Regions from separate parts of the Homo sapiens genome. Here regions 1, 2 and 3 are each linked to region 4. The links are contacts of gene promoters, found by promoter capture Hi-C in human tissues and cell types (Jung and others, 2019). All regions are on one chromosome and are shown on one strand. The core of a region is centred on a gene start or on the middle of the fragment in contact, and the rest is flanking DNA. Distances in the headings are between cores, read along the strand shown.

What was found. Contacts are between HindIII fragments. The study calls those that stand out against the background at their distance.
Region 1: a contact is called between a fragment that was not itself captured here and the fragment with the promoter of SCFD2 in region 4, in 2 of the 25 tissues and cell types used here (aorta and mesenchymal stem cells).
Region 2: a fragment that was not itself captured here is called in contact with the fragment with the promoter of SCFD2 in region 4 in 2 of the 25 tissues and cell types used here (IMR-90 fibroblasts and hippocampus).
Region 3: a contact is called between a fragment that was not itself captured here and the fragment with the promoter of SCFD2 in region 4, in 1 of the 25 tissues and cell types used here (IMR-90 fibroblasts).

What each region holds. Positions count from the first base shown.
Region 1 is chr4:53,540,595-53,546,200 of GRCh38, reverse strand. The region is part of intron 2 of LNX1 (ligand of numb-protein X 1); the gene reads left to right. Among named protein-coding and RNA genes, the nearest start is that of LNX1-AS1, 43 kb to the right of the region's middle. The HindIII fragment of the contact is 4,819 bases long and covers 268-5,086 here.
Region 2 is chr4:53,496,787-53,502,419 of GRCh38, reverse strand. LNX1 (ligand of numb-protein X 1) reads left to right here. Exons shown (of 11, transcript NM_001126328.3): 5 at 3,577-3,779. It overlaps LNX1-AS1 (LNX1 antisense RNA 1), which reads right to left and starts at 2,343. Exons shown (of 4, transcript NR_046622.1): 1 at 2,293-2,343; 2 at 1,918-2,003; 3 at 444-572. The HindIII fragment of the contact is 3,860 bases long and covers 2,055-5,633 here.
Region 3 is chr4:53,599,188-53,604,538 of GRCh38, reverse strand. LNX1-AS2 (LNX1 antisense RNA 2) reads right to left here. Exons shown (of 2, transcript NR_046827.1): 2 at 1-1,002. It also overlaps a transcript of LNX1 not described here. Among named protein-coding and RNA genes, the nearest start is that of LNX1-AS2, 8.9 kb to the right of the region's middle. RefSeq lists an enhancer at 2,522-3,021. The HindIII fragment of the contact is 4,237 bases long and covers 620-4,856 here.
Region 4 is chr4:53,363,941-53,369,269 of GRCh38, reverse strand. It overlaps SCFD2 (sec1 family domain containing 2), which reads left to right and starts at 3,209. Exons shown (of 9, transcript NM_152540.4): 1 at 3,209-4,166. The coding sequence starts at 3,329. RefSeq lists enhancers at 3,244-3,293, 3,314-3,513, 3,734-3,783. The HindIII fragment of the contact is 11,346 bases long and covers 1,871-5,329 here.

The DNA.
Region 1 (5,606 bases), core at 1,428-3,927, 180 kb before region 4:
TCATATACAAAGGATGGCAGCAGAGAGGCAGGGCAGAGTTCAGTCATGAAACATTAACAAGCTTTAGCTTGTATTGATTAAAAATGTGGCCTCTGGCCCAGTGCAGTGGCTCATGCCTGTAATCTCAGTACTTTGGGAGGCTGAGGTGGGTGGATCACTTGAGGTCAGGAGTTTGAGACCAGCCTGGCCAACATGGTGAAACCCTGTCTTTACTAAAAATACAAAAATTATCTGGGCATGGTGAGGTGCACTGTACTACCAGCTACTCAGGAGGTTGAGGCGGGAGAATTGCTTGAACCTGCGAGGCAGAGGTTGTAGTGAGCTGAGATAGCACCATTGTACTCCAGCCTGGGCGACAGAGTAAGACCCTGTCTCAAAAAAAAAAAAAAAAAAAAAAATGTGGCCTCTGAAGTCATTCAAATCTGAGTACAAATCCTGGCTCATCACTGACTAGCTGTGTAACTTCAGCTAAGCTTCAAGCCTCTCATCCTTAAATCAGGTTTTAATGATGGCACCTACCTCATGGGGGTAAGAATTAAATGCAATACACAGGAAGCATTAGATGCCTGGAACATTTTAAGTGCACTATAAACATCAGAGATGAGAAATTAATGGTGATGAGAAATAAATGATCTCCTAGGAACCTTGCAGCAAATGCAATGGCTCCCCATCTCACTGATGAGAAAACTCTGATTTATTGAGGCTGAGGAAACTTCCCTAGGTAATCCAGCCAGCCTGGAATGCAGGCATCCTGATTCCAGGACTGCATCGCTACTGTGTTGTCATGGAGATGGATTTGCTTGGATGTGTTAGGTTGTTTCACACCTTTATAATTCAGTAGGGCCAGGTTGGGGGGCTGAGATGGATTCTGAAACAGAAAAGTAATTGCTTTATAGATTCAACTTTTCTGGGTAATGATTGGGTAGTTTCTCTGGCCAGTTAAAATTATGCTGAAGATGGCAGTTCCTAGTTTGTATAACTATTTTCCCATTGAAGTAGGCATAAGAGAGCAGACTACAGGAGTTCTCAAAGTCATTCTTTAAAGTGATTAGTCAGAAATATTTTTGGCTGCATGAGCTAATTGATGAAAGATTACAAAGGATCAAAGGGATCTTATTGCAAACTCATCTGGAATAATCCTTCCCTCTTAGATGCTGGTGCAGTTTTTAATAGAAAAAAGCATCTGGGTACCACTCCCTCCACCTTCGTGCAATGCAAACTCTACATAGGTCTGAGGTGTCACTGGGGACGTGCTGGTCGAGTGCATTATGATCACAAGCGGGACTCCAGAGTTAGAGCCTGGCCCTGCCAATTGCTGGCTGTGTGTCTTTGGGCAATTGCCTTAACTTCTCTGTTATGATGTCATTGCATCAACCTCATGGAGCTACTGTGAGGACTGACAGACTATATCATGCACATGCAGCCCCAGTACAGTGCCTGGCGCATGGGCATTATTGATCAGTGTCAGCTACTTACGTGTCCATCTCTGCTACTGTACAAGCCAGCTTCCTTTCTTCGCCCCCTGCACACTTTTTTCTTTAGAAAAGATTCTCGCATGGTACTGGGCAGCAGTGCTGGTGTCTTACCACTCCAGGGTCTTCCCTGAAGTACCCACCTTTTGGCCTCCTTGGGTTCTACTCAGATAGCAGCTCAACCTCATCAGGAAACTAATTCCTTTAACATCACAAAAGAAATCAGCACCTCTCAGGCCGGACATGGTGGCTCACATCTGTAATCCCAGCACTTTGGGAGGCCGAAGGGGTGGATCACCTGAGTTCAGTAGTTTGAGACTAGCCTGGCCAACACAGTGAAACCCTGTCTTTACTAAAAATGCAGAAAATTAGCCAGGCATGGTGGCATGCGCCTGTAGTCCCAGCTACTCAGGAGGCTGAGGCACGAATATTGCCTGACCTGGAAGGCAGAGGCTGCAGTGAGCTGAGATGGCACCACTGCACTCCAGCCTGGGCAACAGAGTGAGACTGTCTCAAAAAAAAAAGAGAGAGAGAGAGAGAAATCAGCACCTCTCAGGTGCTTACTAATTTCTATGTACTGCTCTCAAACACCTAGATAGTCTATTTCAGAGAATTTAAAAGCCCAATGACAGCTAGGCAGGTGTGGTGTCTAGGGTTCAAAAATAGGACAGTGAAGGTGAAGAAGACTAAGATAAAGTGTTTGTTCCATGTAACTCAGGTGTTGTTTCTTCAGTTACAAAAGACCCAGAGATGAGGTCAATGTGTGTTTGGTTTTTTCTGTTTGTTTACTGTGGTGGTGTTTTTATTGTTTTGTTTTTTTGTTTGTTTTTGTTTTTTAATCCCCCATTCAGTTGCTTAGTGTCATCTAAAGAAAGCATCATGGAGATTTGTTTTTTCTTTCCCAGTTTCTTTGGACATAAGCTGCTCTCTTCTTTCTTGGCATGGTTGACAGGGTTGAATTGAGGCATATGGATCTCAAAGGAGCCCAGTGATGTGATCCTCCTTCAAATTCTTAACATTTGTTTACCATTTAGCAAAGGCAGGGAATTTCTATTAATAAAAATAGTGGTTTACAGAAACAGATTTTCCTTGTCCAGTGAAAGTAAATTAATGTTCTGAAAAAAAAAATTGAGCAAGATATTTCCTACTTCTTGGAAGTTCTCTGTTCAGCGTTTTCTTTGTATAGTGTGATTTTTTTTTCTTCTTTTCCAAGCTAGGTAGCCTCCTGGTAGATGAATTAAGAGTTTACACTTAGGTAGCATAAAGAAAACATTCATTCCTGGGAAGAGTATAATTTAATAACAAATACTTATCAAATGTGTATGACATATCAGGCATGTTCTAGGCTGTGGGGATTCTGCAGTAAACTTATATTCCAGTGAGAGGGCAGTAAATAAGCACACATGTAGTACATCAGATGGAAATAAGTGGCATGAAATAAATAAAGCAGGTAAGGAGATGCTGTTCTACATAAGCAGGCCTTGCCAAGAAAGCAGCAGAACCCAGAAAGAAGTGAGGAAGGGAGCCAGCCATGAGGGCAACTGACCTTCGGATAACAGTAGCACACAGGACAGACGTGGTGGCTCGTTTCTGTAATTATAACACTTCGGGAGGCTGAGGCAGGAGAATTGTTTGAGCTCAGGAGTTTGAGACAAGCCTGAGCAACATAGTGAGACCCTCATCTCTATTTAAAAACAAAAGTAGCAGACAGGACAATCTGACTCCAAATCCACACCTATGAAGTGCTAATGATTCCTACAGCACAGGATTCCTGAGTAGCAAGTGAGAACCACGTTAGAGGAGCTGGCACCTGGGTGGGCTCATGACCATCAGTTCCCTCTACTTCCACTTGCTTTCCCCCTGATTTATTCCTGATGGGAGAGGGGGGTTCTTACCGGGTTAAACATCACTCTGGGTCACGTGTTCCGAATACAGATTTAAATGCAATTGCAAATGCCAATGGCCTTCTCCACCTTGACCCCTATTCTTACTCAGTGTAAATTAATGTTGAATTTTCTCATTCCGAAATTGTGTTGCCTTCTAAATTACTCCAGTCTGTTCATGTCTTTGTCATGGATTTTCTCTAATTGCAGATGTACCCATGTCTAACCTATTTTTTCCCTCCTCTTGCCTCTGTCCTCTATGGCATTCCCCACCTCAGTGTCATCCATAAATTTTGTGACACTTGCTCCTAGGTCATCAGTCAGAGTATTGATTCAGATCAATGTGATGGTGATTGTTAGGACACTCTTTGAAACACCTTCCCATGGCTGGGCTTAATGCCCCCTTAGTTTGTGATTTCTGATCATTTTCAGCTTTCTTTGGACTAACAGTGAATATAAAATCCCAAGACACTGCGCATTCAGCTCAATCCACCCCCTACCCCATCCCTTTGTATTCTTAATTACAACAACAGTATTACAATCTTTAAGATAATCTCATGAATTTGTCTGTGATCATTTAAATGCAAACTGTCCTTTGTTTATTTATCCCTGGTTTTCTGGAAACTCAATTTTACTTTCCTAATAGTTATTCCCAATTTTTCAAGCTGACAATTGCATATCTCATACACTAATTTTTCACTACCCTTTCCTTCTGTTTTCTCTCTGCATCACTATCACATGTTGTTGGCCTTGTTCCAGTCTTCTGACATCCCCCTGAGTGCAAGGTAATTTTTCAGAAATAATTATTCATTTTTACTGCACCATTGTTCAGTAAGCATATTAGTCAAATTCTATTCCCCAGGGCCATGTGTCATCTGGAGCAGCTGATTTATGCATGCTCATGTTTGCCAAATATTCCTTCACCTATTTTTTGTCCAAGCTTATCTGTGAGGGGTTTATATAATTCTCCAAATTTCACTTATTACAAAGCTATCTGAAAGTAGTTTAGCACTGCAGGGTTTAAACATTTTTATTTTAGTGTTTGCCTCTTTTACTTGTAAATCTGTGTTCCTTCAAGCTTCTTGGCCTACTTTTTTTTAATGACTCAGACTGAGCTTACAAATTTTTAAGTGATTGCTAAGTATTAAGTCGTTCTGTTTTGGCTCATGTGTATTTTTTTCTGCTGAGCTTAATTGAAACAGTCCGTTTTCTTGGCCTTATATTGTTCTTGTCTCAAGTCAGAACTATTCAGTGATCCTAAGAATTTGACACACAACTGAATAGATCCCTGCTTTTTCCATTTGATATAAATGGTTAGAATCTACACTAAAAGAATCATGAACTCTAAGTCTCTTTTAGAAAAAAAATATATATGAAATGTGCTGATTAGATCAGTCTTAGAAACTACCAAGTGTGTCATCTTCCAAAAGCATGGAACTTTCCACTATGTGAATAGTTTGGCACTAATTGTTCACACTTTTCCTTAGAGAAATAATTTTTTTCAGCCCAACCTCTTTTTTTTGACATGATCTTGCCAAGTCAGTGTAGTTTTAGAGAGCCATTTGCTGAAGTTGATTCAGTTGCTAATGGTATCCTAACTTGGTTGTTACCTCCACCCACTCACTAGAGAATCCTGAAATCACAGAACGCATTCCTGCCATTTCTTTCTTTCTTTTCTTTTCTTTCTTTTTTTTTTTTCTTTTTTTTTTGAGTTAGAGTCTCGCTCTGTCACCCAGGCTGGAGTGCAGTGGCGTGGTCTCGGCTCACTGCAAGCTCTGCCGCCCAGGTTCAAGGGATTCTCCTGCCTCAGCCTCCCAGGTAGCTGGGATTACAGGCAAGCACCAACATACCCAACTAATTTTTGTATTTTTAGAAGAGACAGGGTTTCACCATGTTGGCCAGGCTAGTCTTGAGCTCCTGACCTCAAGTGATCCGCCCGTCTCAGCCTCCCAAAGTGCTGGGATTACAGGCGTCAGCCACCATTCCCAGCTCTCCTGCCATTTATTTTTAGAATCAAATACAGTGCCCTTATTTTACTAAAGACAAATGTTTGACCCCAATAAGTGAGGATACTTAAATCAGCACTGTGTCGATGTCTACACAGTCTGTAGCTCTGTTTATAATAATAACAGGGGGGTTTTTTTGTTTTTTGTTTTTTGTTTTTTGAGACAGAGCTTTGCTTGTTGCCCAGGCTGGAGTGCAGTGGCGCAATCTCGGCTCGCTGCAACCTCCCCCTCCTGGGTTCAAGCAA
Region 2 (5,633 bases), core at 2,735-5,234, 130 kb before region 4:
CATGCTATTGTACACTTGATAGACTAGAGTACAGTGTAAACATAACTCTTATAACCACAGAGAAACCAAAAGACTCACTTTCTTATAGCAGTCTGGAACCAAACCCACAATATCTCAGAGGTATGCCTGTACTATGAAGAATGAAGTATAAATTAATGACCATAGCAGCCATAGGGGACAGTGTAATCCATGTGACTTGGATGGATGTTGGGATGCTGACTGTGTGTTGGAAAATGCATTCAAGTAGCTTAGCTCAATGCCAGCATATAGTAAACTCTCAGTTAATAATTATTATTATATCCTTTAGTCCTTGAGTGAGGACATAATATTGAACAAATCATTTTCTTTCCAGACCAATACAGAAGATGAGGTGAAGGTCAGATCATAGTGTGTCCTGATTATTATTTAGGAGTCTGTACTTGATTTGGGGGTAGTGAACACACCTGGGAGCTCTTGTATAGAGTTGTTGCAGGATTGGAGCCGTGTTTCCAGAAGACAGAGATAGCAGCCATGTTCAATGAGTAGGCGGGCTGGAGTGGGAGAGATTGGATTTCCTCAGACACACTAGGAAGCTGTAATTCCAGAATGGAGTGAGGTGTTAAGACTCAGCTAGCCTGGTATCAATGTCGTCACAGCATTTGTGAGGCAACAATGCTTTCAAAATGGCCAGAGGGCCTCATTGCTTCAGCAACCTACAGTTAGCTTCCTGGCATGGTTTATCCATCCTTTTAATGTCAGTAAAGGGACTGGCGCCACTGTTTATCAACTGTGTGACCCTGGCTGGGTTGCTTAATGCTCTAAGCTTCAGCATTTCTTCATCTGAAAAGACAGAGATGGGTCTGGGCATGGTGGCTTACACCGGTAATCCTAGCACTTGGAGGCCAAAGTGAGAGGATCTCTTGAGCCCAGGAGTTTGAGACCAGCCTGGGGAACATGGTGAGACTTTGTCTCTACAAAAAATGAAATTAGTGGGACATGGTGGCACACACCTGTACTCCCAGCTTCTTGGTCTGAGATGGGAGGATTGCCTGAGCCCATGAGGTCAAGGCTGCTTTGAGCCAAGATTGTACCACTATACTCCAGCCTGGGTGACAGAGTGAGATCCTGTCCCCCCACCCCCAAAAAAAAAAAAAAAAAAGATTATTATCATCTATTTCATAGGGTTATTGTGAAGACTAAACAAAAAAATGCATTCAAATACCTTAACTCAATGTCAGCATATAACAAACTCTCAGCTAATAAGATTATATCCTTTAGTCCTTGAGTAAGGACATAATATTGAGCAAATTTTTTACTTTCCAGACCAACACAAGTTTGGCAGTTTAAAAATTCCTTTATCTCTTTAAGGTCACTAGGATCTCATTGGTGTTGCTCTAACATCATTTACAAGTGTGAATGGTATGTCCTTTCAAGCTATCAAATCAAACATTCTCTAGCGGTTTAGGTTTGGCAGTGTGGTTTTTGTAAATCTGTTGGAAAAGATGGTAACAAGGGAAGGGGAATGAGGGAGGGAAAATTGGCTTTTGTGATTATTTCCAAATCTTTCTTTGCTCAGAATGAATTTTTTTCCATTCCCTTGTTATACCAGACATGTTCTAGCAATTGCCTGTGGTATAGCCTACTTAATATAACCAAAGTAGTTTAAACATTAATTGAACTCAATCACCCGAGTACTGTTAGTACCAGGAGCTGACTGCTGAAGCCAGCTTACCCCTGCCTTATGCAGTCACTTCAGTTCAATCAGTATAGAGATTAAGGACCCACATTTACAACATCTCGGGTTTCCTCTGCCCACTAAGTTACTTTGCCCTAACATACTTAGAAATAATTTTAATTCTTTATTGTTCTTAGAGAGTTGAGTACTTATTAATTCATTAGGGAAAATGGACTAAGGTCACGGGTTTTGAAAATGCTCACAAGGAACTAGAAGCAGGCCTGCCATGTGAGATCTTTCCAGATGCCATAACGAAAGGAGACTCTTAAGGTGAGGCAGCTGTCAGCACCTACGGAAGACAGAAGCATCTCAGCCCTTTACATTCAAACTTGAGCCTCTAGCTGCTTGGAGGAGCCCCTTTTTCCACCAAGCTAGGTGTGGCTTGTTCCCATCACTTGTTGGTGTCCCCTCTGAACACTTCTATTCAAACTGAAGTGAAAAAAAAAACAATGCCAGTCGGTGCTGCTGGCTCATAGGTCCATAGAGCAAGTCCCTCATGGGCTCTGGCCTGGCTGTGAACCCCTGGCTCCAGGGATACCTGACAGAGAGTACCGGTCACAAGAACTCTGGGTTCTGACCTGGCTCTCAGGACCACCTAACTTTGGGATGTCCAGTCAGTTACTTCACTCCCCTTCTCTCAGCCTTAAACCTCCTCACTTGTAGTGTTTGACTATCACTGTCAAGCAGCAGGACAATTAGAGCAGCTGTTTTCTGTGTGGTCACAATGGGATGAAAGATGAGAAGAGAGCTAGGAGAGATTTCTTGGGGAAAGCAGATTCATCAGTTTAAAAATACAGTTTGAAAACACCAGCCTAGATGATCTTTGAATCTCCTTGCTCTGAACTCAGTGATTTCAGGCAAACCAGGGATGAACTGCTCAAGGCCACCAACTAGGCCTTGGCCTCTTCTTGATCATGAATCAGGCCTCTTCCATTTGTTAACAACAATGTCTGGTAGAAAGAACTGATGTTCCCCCAAGCCTGAAAAGCAGAGTCTTTAAGGAAGAAATTTTCAAAATTATCTGAGAGGGCAAAGTGGCAAATTGGTTCTGTTTTTTACCTCTCAATAAGCAAGCGATAAAACTGCAATTCATTCCATTAAAAATGATTCATTCACTTCTATTAATTCAGTAAACTTCAGCTGAAGGCCTCTGCATGCAGAGATATATGCAGAGAACCATGGAACAGCGAGAGTTTATGCCCTCAGGTTTTATGGGCATGATATGAGGTATATAAGAAATGAGTATAAGCTGGGAGAGGTGACTCACACCTGTAATCCCAGCACTTTGGGAGGCCGAGGTGGGTGGATCACCTGGGCTCAGGATTTCAAGACCAGCCTGGACAACATGACAAAACTCCGTCTCCACAAAAAATGTAAAAATTTGCCAGGAATGGTGGCATGTGCCTGTAGTCTTAGCTACTTGGGAGGCTGAGGTGGGAAGATCACTTGAGCTCAGGAGGCGGAGGTTGTAGTGAGACACTGCATTCCAGCCTGGGCAACAGAGTAAGACCCTGTCTCAAAAAACAGAAACAAAAACAAAAAGGTAAAAATAACAATAATGGGTTGAGTGCCATGAGAAATAGCTAGAAAGCTTTATAGGAAGTGGGCTGTTTAGAGCAAGGGAAGGAGGAATCAGGGTAGAGTTTAATTGGAAGGGCCTTGAAGGAAAAATTGGGTTTAAGCTCAGGATGAAAAACATTCCAAGCAGAGAAACTTACATTGACACAGAGGCAGGAAAATGGAAAACATGTATGAGGAAAAATGAATAGTTTAGTTTGGCTGACACTGAAGTTTGGCAAGAAGAGTAGTTGGAAAGGTCCATTGGGTGGGTGTCTTAAATAAACACTCTTTGTCCATTTCAGTCTTTCCAAGGTTGTACCACCTGATTCCAGATGGTGAAATTACCAGCATCAAGATCAATCGAGTAGATCCCAGTGAAAGCCTCTCTATTAGGCTGGTGGGAGGTAGCGAAACCCCACTGGTCCATATCATTATCCAACACATTTATCGTGATGGGGTGATCGCCAGAGACGGCCGGCTACTGCCAGGAGACATCATTCTAAAGGTAGAGACTGTGGCTGTGGGGCTGCAGCAAGGGGCTTGATATAAAAAAATGCTTCTGAGCAAACAATTGGATAGATGGATGGATGAATGAGGGAAATGGTAAAATAAATGTGGATAGTGACTTTCTATCATTTTATGACTCTCTGAGATTTGTCATTTAATTGAGATCTTTGTTTCTCTCTGTCTTGCTCTTTCACTCTCTCCCCCCTTTCTCTCTGTATATAAATATTTATCTGTCTCTATATCATTTTGTCTGTCCACTCTTCTGCCTTCTCCCTTCTAGCTTTTTCAATCTTCCTCTTCATTCCCTTTCTCCACCTCCTCTTTCTCCTTTTATCTCTTTTTTTAAAGAGCATTAATATAAAATAAAACTGGGACATATATTTTCTTAAATTGTTTTTAGAGTAGATTAATAGAACATTTTGTATTTTATTTAATCACAATCATCTACTTTTTGAAAGTCAATTTCCTATAGTCTTACGGCCCTCCCTGAAAATAAAAGTAATCTCTATGCTAATTCCACCAACCCAGAGACATACCAGGGGAGACAGGTGTTGGAATAGAATGCTTTGGGTGTTACTGTCCTCAGAGGCTTGGTTAAGGAGAAGGAGGAATTTTCAGAACAGAAAGGATAAAAAGATCTGTTTACCAGGCAGAAGTCCAATGTTTGCCAAAAGTGCCAAGAAACCCCTCCCTGCTCGTATATTTTCTATCTGACACTCAGATAACAGTTCTATCCCATCCCTTCTAGGTTGCTGAGGGACCGGCTCCTGTCACATTATGAGCTGTTTCTTTGGCAAACTGATTGGAATAAGAGGAGAAATAACCTAAAGCAGTTTTCACAGAAATACTGAAATTCCTGCTGGCCTCCGAGGTGGAGCATAAGACAGGGCCCTCGGGGCAGGCCGCAGTACAATCAGCTACACTGTGCACTGCTGCCTCCCAGTTCTAGTGGAAACTATGCTGCCTGGCAGGGTTGCATAACAAAACATTTTGATTCTTGTGGCCTTCAACTGGAGCTTACAAACAAAAGGGCTGCCAGGACTATTTAGCAGGCAACCCTGACTCCCCTGACCTTCTCTGGGCCCAGAGGTGATGGGGGAACCCGGCCCTGCCACCTCAGGTGCTCTCCTCACCTGTGCTTGGACAAAGGTGGTGAGCTTTGCCTTTGCATGAGGGAGCCTCTGGAGCTGCACCAGAGAACAGGTGATTATATCCTCAAGAAAGGCCTTTGTAAAGCCCATTCCAAGCCTTCTCTAACAATTGGCTGCAAATACAAGAAATCTTATCAAACTACAGAAATTCAAGAAAGTTATTTCTCCTCCATGGGGCCTCTTTCCTCAAACACAGAGTGCAGCAATTGCTGCGAAATTGTTTTCTTCCAACATAGGGGGCTCTGGCTGGGCCTGTGTAGCCAGAGAAATTAAAACCAGAAAGCCCCATGCAGTATCAGCCCTACACATCATTAGTGAGGCACAAATGAGAGGGCCGAGCTTAAGCTTGTTTAAGTAGCTTTATAAAGAGATCTAGCCTTTCAATAAAAGAGCCTGGAAACTTCCTTTCATATCAGTTTGTCTGAAACTGTGCAAGGATTTCTTCCTTTTGCTGAGAACATGGGCAAAAAAACCTTGCAGGGGACCACCCTGAGACCTGACACATTCCCATCCGCACACACACAGTATCACACGCACATACACTCCATCGTGCTCACACACTCAGACCCTCACTCACACACTATCACATCTACATACACACACAGTGGTGAGGACTGGAAGTTCTGGTATGAGTTGACCCAGGGAGAAAAATTCAATTGGAGATTTTTGGGAAGAAAATGTCAACTCGGCTTGAAGAGCTG
Region 3 (5,351 bases), core at 1,489-3,988, 240 kb before region 4:
GCCCTCATTATAATTTCTGTAAGTTCCTGGGCTACTTCCTCTTGCTTCTTCCTGCATCCATAATCCCACATTGGCATAGGCTCTGCCAGTTCTGCTTTTTATCCAACTGGCTTTTAAGTCTAGAGAATTCATCACTTTTCTCCAAACATTCCCTTTGCCCCAAGCATTTGTGAGTATAAGGACTTGAATAACAGGTCACTTCTCTTTGGTCTCAGTTCATTTTTAACTCAAACATTCTCTATCCAGCTTAAGGAGAACATATTATGCTTGTGATAAATGAATATACAAGCTTTAGGTGCTAATATATTTCTAGTGGGGCAGCAGGGAAAGAGTAATACAAATTGTCTTCTACGAAGGGTAGAACAAAAATCAGCAGTTTGGCAACTTCAAATTGTCATCAATTTGATTAAATCACCCTCCATCCCACTACCATCTACAGGAATTATTAATAGATATGGTGACCTTAGGTTGCGGTGGAATGACTATCAGAAATCAATTGCTTTCCATTTATGAAACCATCACCAAATATTCTAGGCAATATGATAGCCCATGTAACAGTAGGTGGTTTTCAAAATATTTAATAATTGGTATAGCATAAAATATTTAATAATCAGTAGAGGCACCAACCTATCAGAACAGACTCTGACCAGTCAGAACAGATGTCAGGAGTCAATTGCTGGTACAGCCCCGATATAGTCTGGATATTTGTCCCCACCCAAATCTCATGTTGAAATGTAATCTCCAGTGTCGGAGTTGGGGCCTGGTGGGAGGTGATTAGATCATGGGGGCAGATTTCTCATGAATGATTTAGCACCATCCCCAAGGTACTGTCCTCGCAATAGTGAGTTCTTGCAAGACGTGGTTTAAAACCTCTCCCCGCGCCTCTCTTGCTCCTGCTCTTGCTATGTGATACATGGGTTCCCCTTTGCCTTCTGCCATGATTGGAAGCTTCCTGAGGCCTCATCAGAAGCTGAGCAGATGCCGGGCATCATCCTTTACAGCCTGCAGAATCATGAAGCAATTAAACCTCTTTTATTAATTAAGCAGTCACAGATATTTCCTTATACCAATGCAAGAACGGCCTAACACAAGCTCCATGGTGGACACCAGCTGCATATCCACCCTGCCTATAACCCAGCTCTGCTAATTCACATCACTTTTTACCCCAATCCTTTTCTCTTTCTCTTCCCAAATTGATTTTGTCCATTTGTGTGTTTATTTAATGAAGATGTTATTGAGTTTCCCCATGAGCTAGGAACCATGAATATGAAAATGAGTAGGTCCTCACATGCAGTGAGGAGTCGGCTCCCAAGGAAGCCCTGCAACCACCCTGGAGTCCTCCATGGCCCCACGGCCAGCACAACCAGGGCTGATTTATTTGCTGCCTTAATACAGTGACACTGTGGTGCTCTGGATCCTGGAAAACTGCTTTCCCTGATTATTAGAAACTTTGCCAATCTGAGCATTGATTTTAGAATTTTAGACTTGAAAGGGATCTTTTTAGGGATGAAGGAACTGAGGCCCAGAAAGGTCATAAGATGTCCATGAAACTCACTGTCTCTGTACTTTTGTCCTTGCCTTTTCTAGCTTCAAAAGTGGTCTCAGAGCTTCACATCTACTGTCAGTGCTAAGGCAAACTTGAAAACAGAAGAATTTTTTCAAGGCTTTGAAATTTCTATGCTTTCAGGTATATTTGGCTTGTTTTAAAATAGAGTAAAATGATATGTCATGGATGTACAGACTTTCTGTTTCCTTCACACTGAGCCCAATCCAGGTGATCAGACTGAAGCCTTGTGAACTATCACCCAACACGTGTTTTTCATTCCTTGAAACAATATCCTGATTGCCTTCCCTTGACTTGGGTCCTGTGGACTCCACTCCCCATCTCCTCAGCTACTTCATTAGTTTAGTCACCACGTGTAAAGGCCATTCAAGTGCCCTCACAGACCGCCCATTATAGGAGGTGTCACTGACAAAGGACTCAAGTGGCTGCACTCTAAAAGCCACCCCTGCATTTGCAGCAAGCCACCCTTCAAGGTGCAGCTCCTGGTCAGTGTCAGAGTGACTGAGTGCTGCAGGACCCTAAGACAGGCTTGTTCCTGAAAGTTGGGATTACTCTGACAGCTGATGTTGGCCCAGGTACAGTTCCACCTAACCTTCCCTCCTCTCCTTCACTGGTGTCAGATCGGATGGTGGTCTGACAGCTCTCCCAGCCTTTCTCAGCCTCCATCCCCTGTTGCTCACACAGGTATTTTCCCTAATCAAGTCCCTGCATATTTAATTTCGTCTTGGCATCTGTTGCTTGCAGGACCTAGAATAGATGGTGATGTCAAGGTCACAGATTTGGATCCATCCCCTTATCACTTCGGAGAGTAACTTCATTTTCACTACCTTGGGTTTCTGCACAGACAGATCCTAGTTTCTATTTCTCACTCTGTCCCTATTTCTATCACACCAGTAGAACCATAAGGCTAACTGACAAGAAGCCATTTTTGATGTTTTATGAAATTTCATGGGATCATTTCCAGGGGAGGACAATGGTGCTGACTGGAGAAGTCAGTCACGTGAGCAGGGGTGAGGAGGGTTGGTGGTATAGATTCTACAGAATGGGGTGGTATGCAGAAGAGGGGATGCAGGGCAGGGAGAAACAGCAGTAACCAGTTTGGAGAGTTTGACTTTGAGATGACTGGCAGCTTCAGAGTGACCTGCAGTGACCCCTGGCATGTGGTTCCTTATTCCTTTATCCTGGAGAAGATGCCATCTTGAGATGAGTTGAAAGTAGAGCTGGAGCCTCATAGATCTCCTAGCTTCGAATTCAGATGAGTTGGTGTGTGCAGCTGCCTCTAGGGGGCACAGATGAGGAGGGGACATACCTAGCACAGCTGCTGTCTCTTCTGCCAAACCCCCGCAGCCACATGGCATTGAGGAGTTAGCATCCCAGGGGACAATGGGCTTGCTACCAGGCTCACGCAGTTGTCACAGCTGCTGCGAGTTTATGGGCAGGTGGCCAGAACGCGAACAGTGTTGGTCCAGGTGCAGCCTAATCACTTAGAAGGACTGGCCATCGTGGCAAGACACTTAGTGAGAGTCACCCAATGTGGGGGTGCGAGCATACCCATGGCAGAACTTGTCAAAGCTGCATTTCCTGTCCACCCCCTGGGCAGACTCAGCGAAAGTGGGAGAGGGGTGGACCATGCCACTTCAGGGGGACAGCCACAACTGGAAGGACCAGTCTGGCCACCCTGGGCTGATGGCTGGCACTGATATGGACAAAGACTCAAATTAAGACATCACAAACAAGGAACTTAGGGATCCCCGGTCTAGTTAATAACACTTCTCCTAACTCCTAAACCTCCATATTCATAAAACTGAGTGGAATATATTTAAATACAAAATGCAAGCCTCTTCTCAGATATTTTCCTTCCCTCCCCCCCTCCCTCCCTCCCTTTCTTTCTTTCTTTCTTGCAGAATCTTCCTCTGTCCCCCAGGCTGGAGTGCAGTGGTGCCATCTTGGCTCACTGCAACCTCGGCCTCCCGGGTTCAAGTGATTCTCCTGCTTCAGCCTCCTGAGTAGCTGGGATTACAGGCGCCCACTGCCACGCCTGGCTAAATTTTGTATTTTTAGTAGAGATGGGGTTTCATTAGCCAGGTGTGGTGGTGGGCACCTGTAATCCCAGCTACTCAGGAGGCTGAGGCAGGAAAATCGCTTGAACCCAGGAGCTGGAGGTTGCAGTGAGCCAAGATTGCACCACTGCACTCCAGCCTTGGCAACAGAGCGAGACTCTGTCTCAAAAATTGAAAAAATAAAAATAAAAATAAAAATAAAAAAACAGAGGCCGTCCATCCAGGTTCATGTCCAAGTTAAAAAGGGGTGTCTTCACATGCTCGTGATTTGAGAAAAGTCAAATGAACTTCCCCTATTATTATATTGAGACCCTGTTAGTCGGAATCTGACTGAGAGTCCTTCTCTCTGGTAATAGTGAGTGGTTTTCATGATATTCTCTTTCTTGTATTCTTTAATTTAAGATAAATAAAGGGATGAGCTCCTTGGCCATAATCTGTGTTTTTGAGGGCCTGCCCTTTCTTGGAAGCAAAAGTTCCTGGGAAGGAAAACACTTTCCCACCTAGAAAGTTGGCTTCTCCTGTGCTTCTCGTACCTGAGTAGGCCAGCAAAACAATTCTCCTCTGGCTTTTGCCTTTCCCACTCCATTCCCTACTAGGACTTTTTTTTGTGTGCATGTGTCCTCGAGTCACTTTATGTTACTAGTTATTATGAATTTTCAACCCCTTTGGGAAAAAGTTTGAAGAATTTGGGCTCTTAGAGGACAGAGTACTCTATTGGACAGCATAAAAAACAGCAAGTGCGTGGAGGATTGATGTGAGGAAAATAGTAATTTGCTCCTATCCACTGAGCACTGACTATATAAAAATAGAATTAACAGGGATTTAAATAATACAACACTTAAAAAGCATATGGTATTGGGGAGAGGGGCCTTTTTAAAAAGGTTACTGAGCTGCCAACTCTACCTTAAAGGAATTTTAAATTCATCTAAACAGCTACAGATGTTACTGTCACCTGCTGAGCACAGATCTTTTTCAAGTTCTTCCCAAGGTGCAATGCCAGCCAGCCCTGACTGTGGGCACGAAACTGAGACCATATCTGAAATATACATAGTCTTTCTACCCACTCAGAGCAGCTGCCTCTACATTTGTGCAAATTCTAAAGCTATAAGAGGTATAGGTTTTCTCGGGTGACATACATAGAATCTGAAAGTGTGCTTCAGTCTTGGTTCCCATGAGCCTCCTCTGCCTGGCCCTTCATGGATAAGAGCCAAGATAAGGCTGTGGGGGACCTGGGAAAATCATGGGCTCTATAGTCAACTGGCACTGTTACAGGAAAGGGGTCCCGATCCAGACCCCAAGAGAGGGTTCTTGGATCTTGTGCAAGAAAGAATTCAGGATGAGTCCACAGAGTAAAGTGAAAGCAAGTTTATTAAGAAAGTAGAGGAATAAAAGAACGGCTACTCCATAGACAGAGCAGGCCCAAGGGCTGCTGGTTGCCCATTTTTATGGTTATTTCTTGATATATGCTAAATAAGGGGTGGATTATTCAGGCCTCCCCTTTTTAGACCATATAGGGTAACTTCCTGATGTTGCCGTGGCATTTATAAACCATCATGGCGCTAATGGGAGTGTAGCAGTGAGGACGACCAGAGGTTACTCACATAGCCATCTTGGTTTTGGTGGGTTTTAGCTGGCTTCTTTACTGCAACCTGTTTTATCAGCAAAGTCTTTCTGACCTGTGTCTTGTGCCAATCTTTTATCTCATCCTGTGACTTAGAATGCCATAA
Region 4 (5,329 bases), core at 1,960-4,459:
GCAGGTGTTAGTAACTAGGCACTGACCTGGGTTTAAATGGAAGAGCAAGGGCTGTCATCCAACAACTTATTCAACTTAAGCTCCTTAAAATAATTTTCATGCTGACAAGGATACAAACATGTAGGAATATCTTCTTGTTTACTAGTTCAACATTTGAACTTGGGTCTGTCATTGGCCCTTTTACCTACTAGGTTCTACCAGGTTTATGACTCTTCTGCTGCATATTCAAGGTGCCATTATTCACAATAGCTAAAAGGTGGAAGCAGACCAAATGTCCATAGGCAGATGAATGGATAAACAAAATGGTGTAACATACAATGGAATGTTATTCAGCCTCAAAAAGAAAGAAAATTCTGATGCACGTTACAATATAGATTAACTTGGAGGACTTTATGCTAAGTGAAATAAGTCAATCACAACAAAACAAATACTGTATTGTTCCACTTATATGAGGTATCTAGAGTAGTCAACTACTACATTGCCAACAACTAGAGTAGTCAACTCATAGAAACAGAAAGTAGAGTGGAAGTCACCAAGGACTGTGGAGAGGGGGAATGGGGAGTTGTTGTTTAATGGGTACAGGGTTTCAGTTTTGTGAGACAAGAAGTTCAGAGATTGGTTATACAACAATGTGAATGTACTTAATGCCACCAAAATGTACATTTTACAATGGTTAAGATGGTGTGACTTTTATGTTACACTTATCTTGCCATAAGGAAACAAACAAACAAAAATATGTCCCCACTAAACTCTGTATTTATTCCGCAATCTGCTTCTCTTAATGGTTTTTCAAATCTCAATGACTGGCATTCATCAGTCATCCAGACAGAAAGCTGGGTGCTAACCTGAAATTCTCCTTCCGTGTCACCCTCTCTGTCAAACTAATAAGCAAGCCCTTTGGCACTATATTCTTAACGTCTATTCATACTCCCCACTCTGTCCATCTGCTTGTTACGCTTTTCAACTCTCTCACCCAGATTTGCTGCTGATACTATTATTTTCTTAACTGCTCCCTCTGCGCTAAATTGCTCCATTTCAAATTATTTTCCATGTTTTGACTAGAACCATTTTTTTTCTAAAATCCAGATGTGAACAAATTATTTCCATACCCCAAAATACATTAATACTTCCCCACTGGCTGCTACTACTTAGAATGGAAAATAAGGCTCTTGCTGATCTAGCCCATTTCTTTCTTTTCTAATTCCTTGCTCTTATTTCTTCTTGCGCCTTTTTTCATACAATGCACTCCAGCTATAGGAAACCCTTTGTAGTTCCAGAGAACATATTGTACTGTTTTATGCCTCTACGACTTTGTTTATGCTGCACTCTGTGCCTGGACTGCTAAGAATCCTCCTCCCCATCCTGTCCACCTGGTGAACACCTGGGTTTCTTTGAAGGCAAGTCAAAACTCATGCCCTATATGAAGCTTTTTCTGACTTCTTCCTTTTTCTCTTAGAATTTATTTTTCCTCCTTCTTGACTCCTATACAAAAAATTTTAAAAAGTATTTGCTTCTGTAACATTTTATTGCACTTGTTTTACATGTGTGGGTCCCTTTATTTCATCATAATTATTTTGAAATCAGGGCTGTGGTTTAGTTTTCTTTATATCCTTAAAACCCAGACAGTGTTTGGAATACTGTACGTATTTATTAAAAATTGGCTGGATATATTATTATGTGGAATTTTTTTTTTTTTTGAGACAGAGTCTCGCTCTGTCGCCCAGGCTGGAGTGCAGTGGTGCCATCTTGGCTCACTGCAACCTCTCCCTCCTGGGTTCAAGTGATTCTCCTGCCTCAACCTCCCGAGTAGCTGGGATTACAGGTACCTGCCACCATGTCCAGCTATTTTTTGTACTTTTAGTAGAGACGGAGCTTCACCATGTTGGCCAAGCTGGTCTTGAGCCCCTGACCTCAGGTGATCTGCCCACCTCGGCCTCCCAAAGTGTTGGGATTACAGGCATGAGCCACCGCGCCTGGCCATGGATATTAATTGAACATTCATTCAACGAACATTTATTGAACACCTGTTATAAGTGTTGGGGATACCAAGCATCTAGTGCATAATTTAGCAAAACAGATAGTTTAAAGAAAATAGTGTTAATACTTACCCCATGATATGGCAAGTACTTAGCGAATGTATCAATTGAGTGGTTTGATAGGTGGGGGAAGTGAGAGGTGATAGGGTGATAGTGGTGGTGAGTTAGAAAAAGTCTCTCACAGGCAGTACTGTTGGAATGATTATTTTCGGTAAGTTTACCAGGTAAATTCTTTGTGGATTAGGTAATGAATTTTATTAACCATTGCATCTTTGAAGCTTAGCACAGAGATTATACTTAGTAATGTAAGTATATTGGTGGAACAAACAGAACCCATAAAACATTTTGGGTTCAGCCTATTGACTTCATTGTATCGGTACAATTTTTCTCCATGTTGGGAATAGCTGGAGAGAAATTGAGAAATCAAGAAGGATGTTGATGCTTTTTAAAGAGTGTGGATGTATCCTATAGGCAACTGGGCTAGGAGAAGCTTTTAAGCAGGAAAGTTGTAGGACCAACTTTGTTTATTAGGAAGAAAATAGAATTGGAGGGTAAAGAGATCAAAAGTCAGAAAATGTTGGGAGATCATTGCCTGGGTGAGCGATGATGTTGGGTTTTTGTGACAGCAAAAATGGAGAGGAAGGGCTGAATTCTGAGAGTTTTTAAGCCTATAAGATGTAGTGACGATGAGATGAGGGAGGAAAGATGGAGAAAGTGAAAATGAGAACAACAGGGTTTGTTATGAGGCTTGTGGGCGATAACGTATGTGACAGCAATCTATAAACCCAAAATATTGCACACGGTTGTTTTTATTATCTTTTTCTAGTTGCTCTGAGTTTAGATTGAGAAGGTGGCTGTACTTTTGGAGACGTGTTCATATCTAAGGAAGATACCAAATTTCGGATTAGGTTTTTATTTCGGAGACTTTTCAAGGAACATGAGAAGATTATCTGAGAAGATTATCTGCGCAGACAGGCCGAGCGACGGAAAGAACTCAGTTCAGCTCCATCTCAGGAAACACCTGATCTCCACGAGCTTTTGAGGAAGCCCGGAGCCACAGAGCCCCACCCACTTCTTTCCCGACCGCGCCATCCTTCCTCACTCCCGGCCTCCTCTCTAGCCAATCACCGCTCAGTTTAACGTCATCACCGAGCGCCATCAGGGAGCGTGTCAGAGGCCGACCACGTGTACTGTGGAGACTGTCAAAGTCTCCCGGAGCCCAATTTCCGGAAGCGGTGAGTTCTGAAAGAAGTTCCTGCACCGTAGTTTCCCAAGTCTGCGAATCCCCAACCATGAGCGCCTCGGGCGTACTGTCCTTTACCCAGCAAGGATGGGAGCAGGTGCTGGCCAAAGTGAAACGGGCTGTGGTTTACCTGGACGCCGCCTGCGCCGAGAGCCTGCACTGGGGCTGCGGATCCACCCGTCTCCTGGAGGCGGTGGGGGGTCCTGACTGTCACCTGCGAGAGTTCGAGCCCGACGCAATTGGTGGTGGAGCCAAGCAGCCCAAGGCAGTGTTTGTGCTGAGCTGCCTGCTGAAAGGCCGGACCGTGGAGATCCTACGGGACATCATCTGCCGCAGTCACTTCCAGTATTGTGTGGTGGTCACAACCGTGAGCCACGCTGTCCACCTCACAGCTAATCATGTCCCAGCGGCGGCAGCGGCCGAGATGGAGGGGCAGCAGCCGGTGTTCGAGCAGCTGGAGGAGAAGCTGTGTGAATGGATGGGCAACATGAACTACACGGCCGAGGTGTTCCATGTCCCGTTATTGCTTGCCCCTGTTGCTCCCCACTTTGCCTTGACTCCAGCTTTTGCATCCCTTTTCCCACTGCTACCCCAGGATGTGCACCTCCTTAATAGCGCCCGACCGGACAAGAGGAAGCTGGGAAGCCTGGGTGATGTGGACTCCACTACGCTAACCCCAGAGCTGCTGCTGCAGATCAGATGCCTAGTGTCAGGCCTCAGTTCTCTGTGTGAACATTTAGGAGTACGGGAGGAGTGTTTTGCTGTAGGTTCCTTAAGTCAGGTCATCGCTGCGGATCTGGCCAATTATGCCCCTGCAAAGAACAGGAAGAAGACTGCTGCAGGCAGGGCATCAGTGGTTTTTGTGGACAGAACCCTGGATCTCACAGGTAAGTGCATTGCTCTGGAGTTCTTCATTACCATTCCCCACATTGCTGGGACTTTCATTGATTCAGCATATATTTTATTGACCTTTTATTATATATTAGATTGAGGATACAAAGATGAACTAGATGGACACGGTCTCTAATCTCACAGAGTTTATTGTCTAAAGTGGAATACAGACAGGTGAATTAGCAATTACAATAACATTTGTTAAATGCTGTAATGGGTAGAAATGTCATAAATGCCCATTGCCTTGTTAAACAACAACTTTAGCCCAAGATTATGCTGACAGGGAGGAAAACTGTGCACCTGGGAAATTTTATTTTTAGAAATTTACGAATGCCAGTATTCACAACAGTCCTTCATAAGAAGACTCTGGTTTGTTGGAGAAGTGTTAATAGATGACCCAGCGGAAGGAAAACTACTGCACAAGAAAACATAAAATTATTACAGACAATTGAGGTTTAGGAAATGAGTGTTCAAAAGTGAGGCTGAACTTAAATGTTACTAGTAAATGAGATGAAATAGAATTGTAGAAAATATTTTCAAATGTTTATTGATTTATTTTTAGCTCTCATTGTATTAAAGATTAAGTAAATAATCTCAAATTGTAATAATGTATTATTTACACAAAAGAAACAAATGTAATCCTTAAAGCAGATGAAGAAAAGACACTTTCTGATGTTTGATATGTTATTTTCAAAGGTCAACTTTATTGTTCTCTAATTAGGTTGTATAATACTGTTAGTAATATAGCCTAGCCACTTCCAAGTCCAGGGAGAATAATCGGAAAACTGACATTGGTAGGCATTCCCTTTAATCGGTCAGAAAAAAAGTTGAATTAAGTTATAAAAAACGAAATAGGTATATTTGAGTTTTTAATCTTAATAAGATTAATTTTCAGATAAAAAATGGAAAGTAGGCTAAATGGTAATACTGAGATGTAAACTTAATTATGTGACTGGAAAAACCAGGTGTCCAGTCTGTGATTTAAATATATAAGTAATAACTGTAGCATCACAGAGTCCATAGGGGATTAAAAGATAAAACCTGATAAGTAGATGCTTGTTGAGTTTTTTTGTGGATGCTATATATTACTGTTACTTCTATCTCTTTATGCCAAAAATGTAGCAAAGTTGTTTCATAATCAACTGGGAAGTTCACATAA